2 separate regions of the Homo sapiens genome follow, and region 2 is linked to region 1. The links are contacts of gene promoters, found by promoter capture Hi-C in human tissues and cell types (Jung and others, 2019). All regions are on one chromosome and are shown on one strand. Each heading gives the region's core, a stretch centred on a gene start or on the middle of the fragment in contact. The rest is flanking DNA. Distances are from core to core; before and after follow the strand shown.

Region 1 (6,416 bases), core at 2,618-5,117:
TGATTCACTGATTGGCTAGTCAGCAAATGTTTAATGAGTACCTACTTGGTCCAGGAACTACTTGCTTTAAGTGCTAGCTTTAAAACCAAACTGGACCTTCAAGTTTTCTTCACCATTACCCAATTATTTTATTATTGGATGTGTAATATTGATAAAAGAAAAAAAAACCTCAAAACAGGAAAAATACATAACGGAACTCACACTTTTCTGGTGTTTATGGTATTTTTTTTAATTAGCGTAGTGCCAACATGAAGAACTCTTTGTGATTTTGTGATTTTGAACTAAATACCATGAGCAAAGAAATAATGTCTGCACTCTTTACTTCATAATACTTTTTCATGCTAAAAAAAAAAAAAAAAAGAAAATCTGAATTTTCAATTAAAGGGACACTGTTGGTAATTTGCAAATGAGGAACCAAGACCCATGCTAACTAGTTTGTAAGAGTTAGAAATAATATTAACTCCCAATGCCATCCTCTTTAAACTCAAACTTCCCGGCTTCTGAAGAACTTTGATTTAATTTAATTGGAAGAAATGCATGGATCCCCATGAGAAAATGCCCTGGGATCAGCCATGGAAGGAGAGTAGGTAAACATCATGGTTCTTTACTAATTTCTTTCCATATAAAAAAGGAGGTTTCTAGGAAATTTCCAGAAACTTGATTACAATTTCTTCATCACATACTGATTTGCTATATATTGTTTTTCTAGCCAGGTCCATGTTCAAAAAGGGGTGAAGACTTGAGAGTATTACCCAGTGGGGTGTGTTTGTGTGTGTGTGTGTGTGAGAGAGATATTAGGACTTAATGAAATAATACTATATACTATAGGAGTGGGACCAGAAGAGAGAGAGGAAGAGAGAGATGGAAGAGGGATGGGTGAGTCAGTCTTGCCCAAAATGGTTGTATGCTTTGGCTAAATTCTCAAAGTAGTCACTCAAAGGCATATTTGATTTTGCATGTGAATAAACTAATAACTCTTGCTGAGTATCATTGTATTTTATCCCAACCAATCCCTCTCCAGAACTCAGAGCAGCTTTATCATAAATAACAATTATTGGTAAAGGTATAGTGTAACTTTACATGAAAATTGTTTTTTTCAAGGTACATACATCATGATCAAAATTTAATATTTGATGTAAATATTTAAATATCTTAGGAGCAATTATTTGATTCTCTCCCCTTTTCATATGAAATAAAAACAAATGTATGGCATTGCGTTCATGACAGTATTTACTGCTTAGCAAAGAAAAAAAGAAGTATTGAGGCAATTATTTGAATAATTATTTGAAAAATTATCTAATTAAGGAGGGAAAAATGTAAACGGTTAGCTCTAGGACACACCAGAAAACAGTTCATAGCACTTTACTGTTACAGGCAGGGAGGTTTAAAAAAATCTTTAAGATTTGTCATAGCAAGCTTTCTTCTCTTGGTTCTTGAGCTATGAAGTAGTCTTTTTCTACTCAGAGCTAAATCTTTAAAAGTAATACCCCATAATCCAAAAGTTAGGAATTCCTGAGTTTAGCTCTCACAAAAAATAATGTACCATCTTTGCAAAGCATACTGCGAAAGGAGGTCTTTTCAAATGTCTTGTCTCAAATGGGAAACAAACCTGGGACCATATTGAATCCTGCAGTTTTTTTTAATGAGGGCAAGAGTAGGGAAATCTTGCAGATAAGTCTCCTAGCTCAGACCTGGCCAAGTGCTCAGTAATGGGCAGGAGGGCAGGCAGATATCAGAGAAAGCTGCCTGTGTTCCTAACTGCAGGAGGATGGAGAAGAATCTCTGCAATTCCTCAAAAACTTTCTAAAATGTAAGGTGGACAGGTCATTTTTAAATATTGTTGCTGTTCAAGAATTGAGCCATAATGGTCCCTGGCCTCTTTTTTTATAACTAATCATACTTTTAAAAGACTATTTTTTCCAAATTTGTATTGCAATTAATGTGTGCCTGAACTATAAGACATTTTCTATCCTCCTAATTATGAAAGCAGCCTGTGTCAACCAATGGTTTATGCAGAGATTTAAGATTCCAACACACAGTTGCAAAGATCTGAAGGAAATATACAAACTGTTACACACACAAAGCAACATACACAAAACAGCAAGCACAAATATCAGTCACTGCCAACAGTTCACTATCCTAAGCAAAACATAGTTTGCACTTCTATAGAAGCTACTGGCTTCTAGAAAGAGCAAGAGTACCAGCAGTCATATTTAGCGTCTATGGTGTATTAACATATAAAGAAAACAGCAGTCATTAAAGACAACCCAGCTTTTAAAATACATATAAGTCCTTGTCCAGCAGTTAGCCAATCAGAAAGCAGGTCACATCTTGTTAGCTGTATTAAATACACGAAACGTCATGAATTCTCTATGGCTCTGTTGACAATTCAAGCCAACTGTGTTTTATCCCATAGCACAAACTTAATGGAGTCCCTTCCTAGAGTTAAAAGTCAATCTTCAATCTAAAATTCCACCAGAGCTATTCCCTAAAAGCTCTTTGGCATAAATCTTGTGGTATTTATACTCTGCAGAGAAGACTAAATTCCTAGCAATTTCCACTTCCTAAAGTGACTTTGGTGCACCTATAACAAACTCCTTTTCCGAACACTTCCACACAAAGCCCCAACTTACAGGCAGATGGACAATCCAGCAGCAAGACCTGCCAGCTGAGCTAGCACAGAGAAAAAGTCAACTGACATAAAATATTTAAATTGCAGGAGGCGAGTCTGGAGTTTTGCATTTAAAAAGTTCTGAAAGTCCTGTTCTCTCTGCTCCCAGAGTTGCTGGCTGCCTAGGAGGCTGAGTCTCCCTCTCTCAGGCACAAGATCTCAAATATGCAAAAACTAGAGCTGACTTGAAAGCTGAACCAGCTCCTGTCCTAAGGTAGAGTGATAGGGGGGCACGGCCGACAGCAATAGGAGAAAGTCTAGAGTCCCCTTGCCCCAAGCAACTGGTTTCTGATTTTAACACTGAAATATACAAACATGTGTCCCTCCAGGGCTAGTTCTGAGAAGTAGGCAGGTTTACTCTTCTGCCCCTTTTTACCTCGATTTTGGTGACTCTGAAAAGTAAATACAGGTCAAAGCAGACTTCCTCTAGGATTTGTAAAAAAGAAAATATATATATATATATATATATATATATATATATATATATATACACATATGTATATATATATATATATATATATATATACACATATGTATATATATATATAGCCAGATGCAAACAATCACAAAATTCCTTGGAATTATATCTCAAGAAACACCAACAGGACTGACTCAGAGCCTGTAAAACACCAGAGTTCTGGAAGAGCAACATTTCTGGAAACCCGGCATGTGAATCAAGTGCTGGGTTGTCTCAAGATTCCGGCAGAAACTGTCCTCTGCTACAAGAGTTGCTGTGCCTGGAAACCCAGCGTCCAAACTCGTGGATTCATCCTGGCGCTCATTTCCACGTACGTGGTAGTATCAAGTGGGACACTTCCCATAGAATTCAGCCAGAAACCCTAGGAAAAGCTCATGCATAGCTTAACAAAAATACACAAACACATCCCCAAGGTTGAAGTACTTACCTCTGTGCGAGACTGCAGTCTCTTGTTCATCTCATAGATTCGGTACTCTGGCTGTACCATGTATGGTGTATGCCTCCTATAAAATGGGCCGAAAGGAGAAGAATAGAAGGGGTCATGTGGTGTGCTGGACATCTTGCCTGCTTTTCGAAAATCAAGCTAAACAGAGTATCAGTAACGTCCATGCAGAGCACATGGGCTGTGTTCTTCCCAGTACAAAGTAGACGCACGCACACACGCTCACACACACACAGAGGCAGGCAGGCAGGCAGGCTGAACACGCTGGCTGGGAACTGCTGTCGGAGCCCTCTATAGCAGGAGAGGAGAGGGAGAGGAGAGGAGGGAGGGAAAGAGGGAGGGAGGGAGGGAGCACGGGAGAGGAGGGAGAGGGAGAGAGCAGGAGCTCCAGAGAGGGAGGGAGGTTGGTATGGAGGAAGGGAGGGAAGAAGGGAGGGAGGGAGGGAGGGAGGAGGGAGGGAGGGAGGGGGAGAGAGAGAGAGAGAGAGAGAGAGAGAGAGAGAGAGAGAGAGAGAGAGAGAGAGAGAGAGAGAGGAGCTGGATAGCTTTAGGCACCACTGCTTGTTTTTAAAGAAGCAGTTTGTGGAGAGGTCATTTCCTGTCCACATTGTAGACTAGTTCACAAATATAATTCTCCTCACAGTCTGACAAGAGGTCTAAGGTTTGGTTTTAATTTTTTTCCTCCAGCCAGGACCCTTCACAACCTGATTGCTAAGCTTGTTAGCATAGAGGTGGTCTAACCGCTACATGAGCCGCTCACCCCTGACAACCACACTGTTGTAATGTATCAGAAATGTTGATTACTACAAAATACAGAAACACGGGCACTGTGGTGCCCCGAATTGGGACCGGTGATTCACTCACATGCAGAGATTTATTTCAGCACTAATCTCCCTATGTAGTTTTGCTTTACTTGCTGTTGTTCCAAGGGCTGTTATATTCTTTGCCCTCCACTCCATCTCACTCCCATCTCTCCCCACTCACCCCTCTTCCCAGCCACCTCCCTCTTCTCCAAAGACTTCATTCAGGCCCTTAAGGTGCCTGGGCATTTTCAGGTAAAAACAGTCGTTCTGAATGTGGAAGGTATAAAATACACTTAAGGAGAGCAATGGTCTTTTTTCCCAGGAAGGAAAAACAAACAAACAAACAAACAAAAAACCCAAACAGACCTCCCAATAAGACAGGAAAAGCAAAGAAGGAGAAAACTGCCACAAAAATGACCACGGAAAATTTGGTTGAGAAGGAAATTGCAAATAATTGAATGGATCATCCCCAGATAACATGTCCAACTCTTATGGAGACAAAGTCTGTATTTTCCAAGATTGGTCAAGTAAACAAATATTTTCCCAACTGTGGTATATGATAACCATAAGAAATCCCAACAGCCCATGGAAGGGGAAAATCTCTATAGAGAATTAAACAATCTATAAAATAATCAAATTCTGCTAGAACCCACTATAACCAGAGATACGACACTTAAACAAAGCCCAGCCACACAAAATTTAAATGTATTGAGCTAACACCTAGGTAGGTCAGTGGTATTAAGGAAATAAAGCAAAGGACCACCAAAAAGCATAATGAATTCAAGACCTGAATGCAAATGCATGCAAATGAGACATTTCTTCTTTTTAATAAGCAGATTAATTAACTTTCTGCCCCAATCATGGCTTGGGTATCTCCAAGTCACTAGCCAACAGGGGATAGAGTATTGCTAATTCTGCAATTTACACTCTTAAAAATACTCAGACACAGAAAAGTGTATTGCTGTCTTGATCAGTCCTTCTTCATAATTGCATGAAATATTTGCTGAGTCCACCCCAAACTTCCAGCAGCGCAGCCTAACACACTAATGTCGCTTCCCAGGATGAGATTAGGGTAGGTATTACACTAAGGCTGCTTGGAACTTGCGCTAGGAGACCCCAAGGCAGGCGAGAATGCTTGGTTTCAGGTTTCATTACAAATCCGAAAGCTGGACCAAATTTGCTGCAAGGTTTGTCAAAACACACAACCTTCTAAAGACAGGATTTCAAACAATTTTGGCATGATTTACGTTTTGGTATGGCAGCCACTGCAAAACCTAATGGTTCCTTATGTTTAAACTCTCAAACTAAAGACATTCTGAAAGTTTAGTGTCTGCCTGAGTTTGTGTTAATGTGACCATTTCAGTGCAAGAATGAAAGTAACACCTAGGCAGGCCTGTGCAGGCCAATAGTAACAAAAAAAAATGAAACAGTTCAAAAATCCATTTAGGAAGGGAATCCCTCTCTGAATAAGGTTCTGGTTTGCTCTCATTTGTTTCTGCAGACCATTGCCAATTATAATTGGAAATATTTCTTGCCATTAATAGTGAAAGACTCTCATTTCAGAACTATCTGAAACTTGATAATGCTGATCCATATCCCTGATTCTCATCCCCGTTATTTCAGGAGTCTCCGAACTGGTCCCCCTGCCCACAGATTCACAGTCCTCTTCTAACTTGTGGTCTGTCCTTATTCAAATGAGAATGTGGATTTCAGATAAGTGAAAGCGATCATGTCCCATGTTTTCCCCCTCAGTGTTTCCCTGCTGCCAGAAGGAAAACGTGCAAGTTCCTTAGGAACATGGCATACAGGGCTCGGTAAGACCCGCACTTCTGTGCTGTCTCTTTCTCCCTCTGTCACATACACACACACACTCACACACACTCATTCATTTACTCATTTGTGTGTTCATTCATTTATTTATTTGCTATACTTGATCTTCCTAAACTTGCAATCTTTCTTATGCATGGCCACATTTGTACTTCTGGCCCTAGTTTACCTACAAACTGCTACTTATCCTTCTAT
Region 2 (6,416 bases), core at 1,293-3,792, 52 kb before region 1:
GTGGCACACTCCTATAGTCTCAGCTACTTGGGAGTCTAAGGTGAGAGAATCGCGTAAGCCTAGAAGGTGAAGGCCTGAGGCCCAGCCACTGCACTCTAGCCTGGGAGACAGAGACACACCCTGTCTCCAAAAAAAAAAAAAAAAAAAAAAAAAAGGATCTATCAATGGTGAGTCACCAAGCAACAGCTGTAGAAGTAAAAACTAAATACCTCACTTCTCCTCCCACTTCCCTGGGTGCCTCATTTCAAATTCCTTGGCCAATGACCTCCCTTTACTAAAGCTTTATTTACATTTCTGCAGTTGCACATCTGGAAAAGGAACTTCTAAACTTTATTTCACAAGAACACTTGGGGCTCTCTCATATCCCTTTTTATGGTAAAGATATTAAGGATTTGTCTGTTATTTTTCTCTTAAGACTTTTTTTTCTAATTCTGCTTTTTGATGGGGTAACTGGGATACATCCTTAAAGCACAAAGTGTTTTAATGTTAAGAAATCAAATTGATTGACTCTGCATTTACAAGAACAATCCCCATGTCTTCTCTCATCTTGTTTCGTTTGTTTTGTTTTTGTTTTTTTGTCCATGACTTTTTAAGACATTGGTTTCGAGTGCTACTTCCCTGATCTTATTGTTGATTTTCCTCACAACATTAGCACATTTTGCAGAAGCCCTGAAAACATTGCTTTTCCCTGACCTAACCCACCTAATGTTTTCTTCCACCTGCACTCATTTGATTTCAGGCTTGATACTGTATTAAACATTCAGAGCAAATGGATTGTGGTCTGTGGTTAAAAGGTACAAGAGGGAAAACTACATCATGTCACGTCTCTGCTAATGGTAGGTCAAGAGTAAACATCCATAAGCAGATGCAGCGGAATCTACTGCCCACTGGGGGAAAGTTCACTCTGGCTCTTTAAGAGTCAACAGCTTAGACTCATGCAGTGCATGTTTCAGCCCAGTCCCAGATTAGAGATGTGGGGTCTCAATTTCACTGTATTAAAGCTAGCAGGTGGAGGCTGCACAAGGTCAGTGGCCTTTGTTCTGTGGTCCCTGAAGCTCTAGAGGGCTTTCCAGGGGAGAAGTGGAATGCAAGAGTGTAAGCAGATCCCCTGCTCCCAAATTTATACATTAAGCCTCCTTATTAAAGAGCCGTTTTGGTAACTGCAATCACAACTGCAATGCATGTCATCGAGATCTCCTCTCAGCTCTTTCTGTGACTATCCCATGGCCGCCCCTGTTTCCTTTGAGCACTGGTGGGTGTTTTAGCTCTCTCAGTAACAGCTTTTTCTATCAAAGAAACCCAGATGGCAATAGGCAAAGCTTACTTTTCTCTCTTGCCTTCCTACGGCAGGCACAAAGACCTGACACATGTTAAGTGTTCCATAAATGTTTGTTATGGTTGCTAATACTATTTATCATATGGGCTACTACAAAATACATGATTCCCTATTATCCCAACATCTACTGTTTCTTGCAGCAACATCCTATGACAGCAACAGTGACAGGAATAAGACCAGAAGCAATACTAATCGCATAGGACTTATGAAATACCTACCATGGGTAGGTCCTCTACTAGCTGGTTTATGTGTACTATCTCATTCAACCCCTTAATTTTCAAGTACTACTAGTCCTAATTTATGGGGATATTAATTAGGAAATGGTGCAAGAGAAGTCAAATAGTTTGCCCAAAAGAAATGAGCTAATAAGCCTGGGCGCGGTGGCTCCTGCCTGTAATCCCAGCAGTTTGGGAGGCCGAGGTGGGTGGATCACCTGAGGTCAGGAGTTCAAGACCAGCCTGGCCAACATGGAGAAACCCCATCTCTACCAAAAATACAAAAAATTAGCCAGGCGTGGCAGCATGCGCCTGTAGTCCCAGCTACTCAGGAGGCTGAGGCAGGAGGATGGGATGGGGTGAACCCGGGAGGCAGAGCTTGCAGTGAGCTGAGATCACGCCACTGCACTCCAGCCTGGGCGACAGAGCAAGACTCTGTCTCAAAAAAAAAAAAAAAAAGTTAATAAGTAGCAAGGCTGGATTATAAGGTCTGGTTCATCTGATCTCAACTCTCAGACTTTTTCTATGCAATGCACTCCCTAAGACCTCCGCCCATTCTTAACATGTTTTTACATTGTCTAATACACTTGGTTTAACAGATAAGAAGCCTCAGCTGTAACATGTAAACCTATCAAGATGGCTAACAAAGCTTTAATAATTTCAAATACCAAATAGCCCAGTGAATCCAGGTTTTAAAAATAGAAAGCAAAGTACATTCTATCTTGTCTACCCCTGGTGCTGTTGGTAAGCAAAAGATCAAACTCTTTAGCAGAACAAGTTGCATTTTAACTTATTGGAAGTGAGTCTAAAAATTCTATCTATATATTTTTTATGGCCTGAATGCATGGAAATCAGACTTTTGAAGGATGTTTTGTTACCTTCTGTAGTAGTTTGAGAGAGTATTTCTAGAGCTATAAAAACACTGAATATGTAAATTTTGGAAACATTTATATGTTAAAAATACTGAAAAGCAACTACGGGTAAGCATTGCTAAAAGCAGGTAGGGGAGATGCCACATTTGCAGTCTGTAGACTCCCTAGAGCTCTCCATTAATTCTGTCATGTCATTTACATGAAAATGGGGCTCTCCTTTGTATTAAGATGCCAAAGCCAAATCACATGGACAATGCAAAAGAGCAGGCAAAGAGTGCTTTGTCACAAAAATATATAATTTATTTCAACAATTTCTGTGGATTTTTGATATCAAAGTCTCTTTATGACACTGACAGTCATCAAGCGGATGTTTGTCAAAGTACATTTCCCAGATGTCTAAATAAAACAGTTTTGCCTTGATGAGTTTTATACTGAGAGCTGGAGAAGACTCCACTCTATTTTAATTTCTCTCCTTTTTCAGTATGTGTCATTTCATTCTCTTTTCAATTTGACTCTCACCCCAAAATTTGAATAGTTGAGGTTCTAGTTAGTTGGACCCCAATTAATGAAAAATCCCCCGTAATTGTTTTTATGGCAAGATAAAAACATTTCTATATGTTGTAATAACATGTAGAAAAATATTTATGCTCACTAGTAAGCCACAAAATACAAATGAGACTATCAACACCAAATAATTTTTGACTCTCAAATCAGCATAATATTTTTTTTCATGATACCATTTAACAGGGACCAGAATGTGGTCAGAGGGTCACTTATATCCATACTAATGGAAAGGTCAATTACTCAATACTGTTGGAAACTCAGTGTTAACATTCTAGAGGAAGATTTTAGGAAATGTCCAAACTCTTATTTTGTGACACCTCCTCCTTAAGGATGTTACCCAAATTTTGAAAAAATTCTTACATCAAAGATGTTTACCATAGTGGTAAAAAATAACAATCGTTAGAAACACCTAAACCTCTTGCAATAACTTATCATCTTATTAAATGAAAGAAATACTTGGCAATCATTGGTAAAGGTTCTTTAACACATGTTTGTTTGTTTGTTTGTTTGTTTGTTTGTTTGTTTTTTGAGACGGAGTCTCGCTCTGTCGCCCAGGCTGGACTGCAGTGGCGGATCTCGGCTCATTGCAAGCTCCGCCTCCAGGGTTCACACCATTCTCCTGCCTCAGCCTCCCGAGTAGCTGGGGCTACAGGCGCCCGCCACAGTGCCCAGCTAATTTTTTGTATTTTTTGTAGAGACGGGGTTTTACCATGTTAACCAGGATGGTCTCAATTTCCTGACCTCGTGATCCACCCGCCTTGGCCTCCCAGAGTGCTGGGATTACAGGCGTGAGCCACCGCGCCCAGCCTAACACATTTTTTAAAGTAATATTTTTAAATCTCTGCTATAATGCAAATGAAAAAGCCAAATATAAATGTAAAATACATAGAGTCTTGTGAAAAAAATAAAATAAAAATAAGTACTGAGAAAAATAAGCCAAATACTTAACTGTCAGGGTCTTTGATGAATGCTGAAAGGTATTTATTTTTGAAATCCAGCTACTTGTCTCTGTTTTTCTTACACTCTACAGTAAGTATATATTATATTGAAAGTAGGGACAAAGTGAATTTTAAAAAGCAAAAAAGAACTATGTAAAGGGTCTTGGCAACAAGTCATTAATAAAGGCTTACTGTTCATTCTAAATTAAGGCTATGTAACATGGTTCTGTACACAGATGAAAAGCTCAATTTGGAGAAGTCCATGTATATACACTATAATCTAATTAATGGCATTTGTACCCAAACTAATTTGAAATTTTAATGTTTTAAAACAATGTCAAAAATCTTGAGTATTCACATATTTGGCACACATTTCTAAGAAGACAGCAGATGTATTCCATGGGTTTCCAGAGAAACATGAATGTACACATGAATAGAAGCTGCAGGAAGGCAGAGTCTAGTTAGCATGTGGAAGAATATTTGGCCTTCAGAGACATCCAACAATGGAGTGGGCAGCCTAAGGACATATTAACCCTCCTCAGCTTGAACAGGATTTTAGCAGAAGCTGCAGCGTCATACACTAAAACAAAAGAAATAACCTTCTCCCCATACTTTCTTTTAACTCCATCTAGGTAACCCCCATCTCAGTAAATAATAGCAATATCCACATACTTGCTGAAGACAAATATTTTAATCTTCTGTTTCCTTTGTCAGCCATATCTGATATATCAGCAAACAACATCGCAAATCCATCCACTTTTCCCCATCCCCACGGCCACCATCCTGGCCCAAGTCAGAATCATGTCTCCTGTTGACCACTGAAAGAGCCTCCTCAATCATCCACACTCTTTCCAGTAATGCACTCTCTGCATGGCCGCCTGAAAGCTACATCTACTGATATATCTGATTAAAGCCTAAATCAAATCACACCACTCCCTTACTGGTAGTTCTTCAAAGATTTCTCAAAGCACTAAAATGAAATCCCAAATTGAAAATTGAAATTCCTTTCCCCGATCTACAAAGACCAAAAAATCTGGCCCCCACTATGCCTTCAATTTAATCCCAGGCCATTTGCTTCATCCATATTCATTTTTTTCCCTCTGTCTTTCTTTTGCTGTACTTGCCATTGGCTCCTGCCTGTTAGTTCTCTCCCAAGATGCTCACAGGGCTGGCTTCTTCTCAAAAATGTCTTTGTTTAAATATCACTTCCCCTGGGAGGACTTCTGTGACCACCCCAACTAAAGTAGCCCCAAACGTACTGTCTTTCATCTTCCTCTTTTGCTTCTTGCTATCATATTTCTTTTTCTTTTAAAAATTGATTTCTTCTAATGCAAGATCAAGGAGAAAAGGATCTTATTCATCGTGTCCATTGTTTCATTCAAAATGCCTGGCATCAAGCAATTGTTTAATTAATACCGATAGAATGAATGTCAGTTACACTTTATCATGACCACATTCCATGCAGCAAGAACCCAAAGGCAATGTCTAAAGGGCCTGGTGGCTCACTGAGGAGCCTTCTTAGAGAGTTGTGCTGCCTCCTTCAAATCCCTCTGGTCCAATTGATGTATTAACTCTTTGGGAGCCATTTAATACAGTGACACTTCATGGCATGACTGTTTCCTGTTTGTCAAAAAATAACACATTCTTTTAAGTGTAGCCATTGAAAAAATAGCTATCAAGAACACATGGGCATTTGCTCTTAATTCCCTCTTATCACTCTCTGGCCATTCCCTGGGTGGAGGGTTCTGCCCACTTCTGGAGGGTCAGCACCTTGAAGGCAGACACCAGCTCTTAGCCTTACACCTGGTCCCTCTTACATTTCATCTCTTCCAGCACACATGCTAGTCATCTGGTAGCCTTTTGCATACTGGTGAGTGATTTAAAAACAAAACTGTGAAAAGTAGGCATACTTTTAACAATCCCCAGGAAGGTGAAGCGCTTTCATCTTCAAAACTCCAACATATATTAATAAACTTTGCATCTATGCATTCAGGTATGTCAAAGAGGTGATATGCTATAAACATCTTTGGAGGGGAGGTGAATGCTGGCTTTGGGAGACTATGAAGGTAGCATTAGAAAGAGGGCCTCTGGAGCTCTTGTGTAAGGAGAAAGTCGGCGGCGCTTTCTGTGAGTCTGTTATGGGAGCCGCCAAAGAACTGCCAGTTTCCCTCCACATGGACACATCTAGCCAGAGAAAGCCTGGAATAAGGGAAATATCCCAGGCTTTGGATAGGGCCTGGACAAATTCTAGCCCCACCACCTATTAGCTGAACCTCCTTGAACAAGCCATTGAGCTTAGCTGAGGTTCAATTTCCCTTGCATGCAAAAAAAAAATTTGATGGTTATATCTACATTATAGAAATATTGAGAAGATTAAGTAAATTTATGCATGGAAAAGCTCCTGAAAGCCTTGGCACCCAGTAGATAGATATTTAATTTACATAAGCTTATTTCCTCCCTTTCCTGAGAACAGAGGAGAACACAAGGATGT

The links. Contacts are between HindIII fragments. The study calls those that stand out against the background at their distance.
Region 2: a fragment that was not itself captured here is called in contact with the fragment with the promoter of LDB2 in region 1 in 2 of the 25 tissues and cell types used here (hippocampus and mesendoderm cells).

What each region holds. Positions count from the first base shown.
Region 1 is chr4:16,894,778-16,901,193 of GRCh38, forward strand. It overlaps LDB2 (LIM domain binding 2), which reads right to left and starts at 3,868. Exons shown (of 8, transcript NM_001290.5): 1 at 3,577-3,868. The coding sequence starts at 3,708. LOC107986188 (a long non-coding RNA gene) reads right to left here and starts at 343. Exons shown (of 2, transcript XR_001741396.2): 1 at 169-343. The HindIII fragment of the contact is 10,471 bases long and covers 369-6,416 here.
Region 2 is chr4:16,844,121-16,850,536 of GRCh38, forward strand. All of the region lies in intron 1 of LDB2 (LIM domain binding 2), which reads right to left. Among named protein-coding and RNA genes, the nearest start is that of LDB2, 51 kb to the right of the region's middle. The HindIII fragment of the contact is 3,486 bases long and covers 800-4,285 here.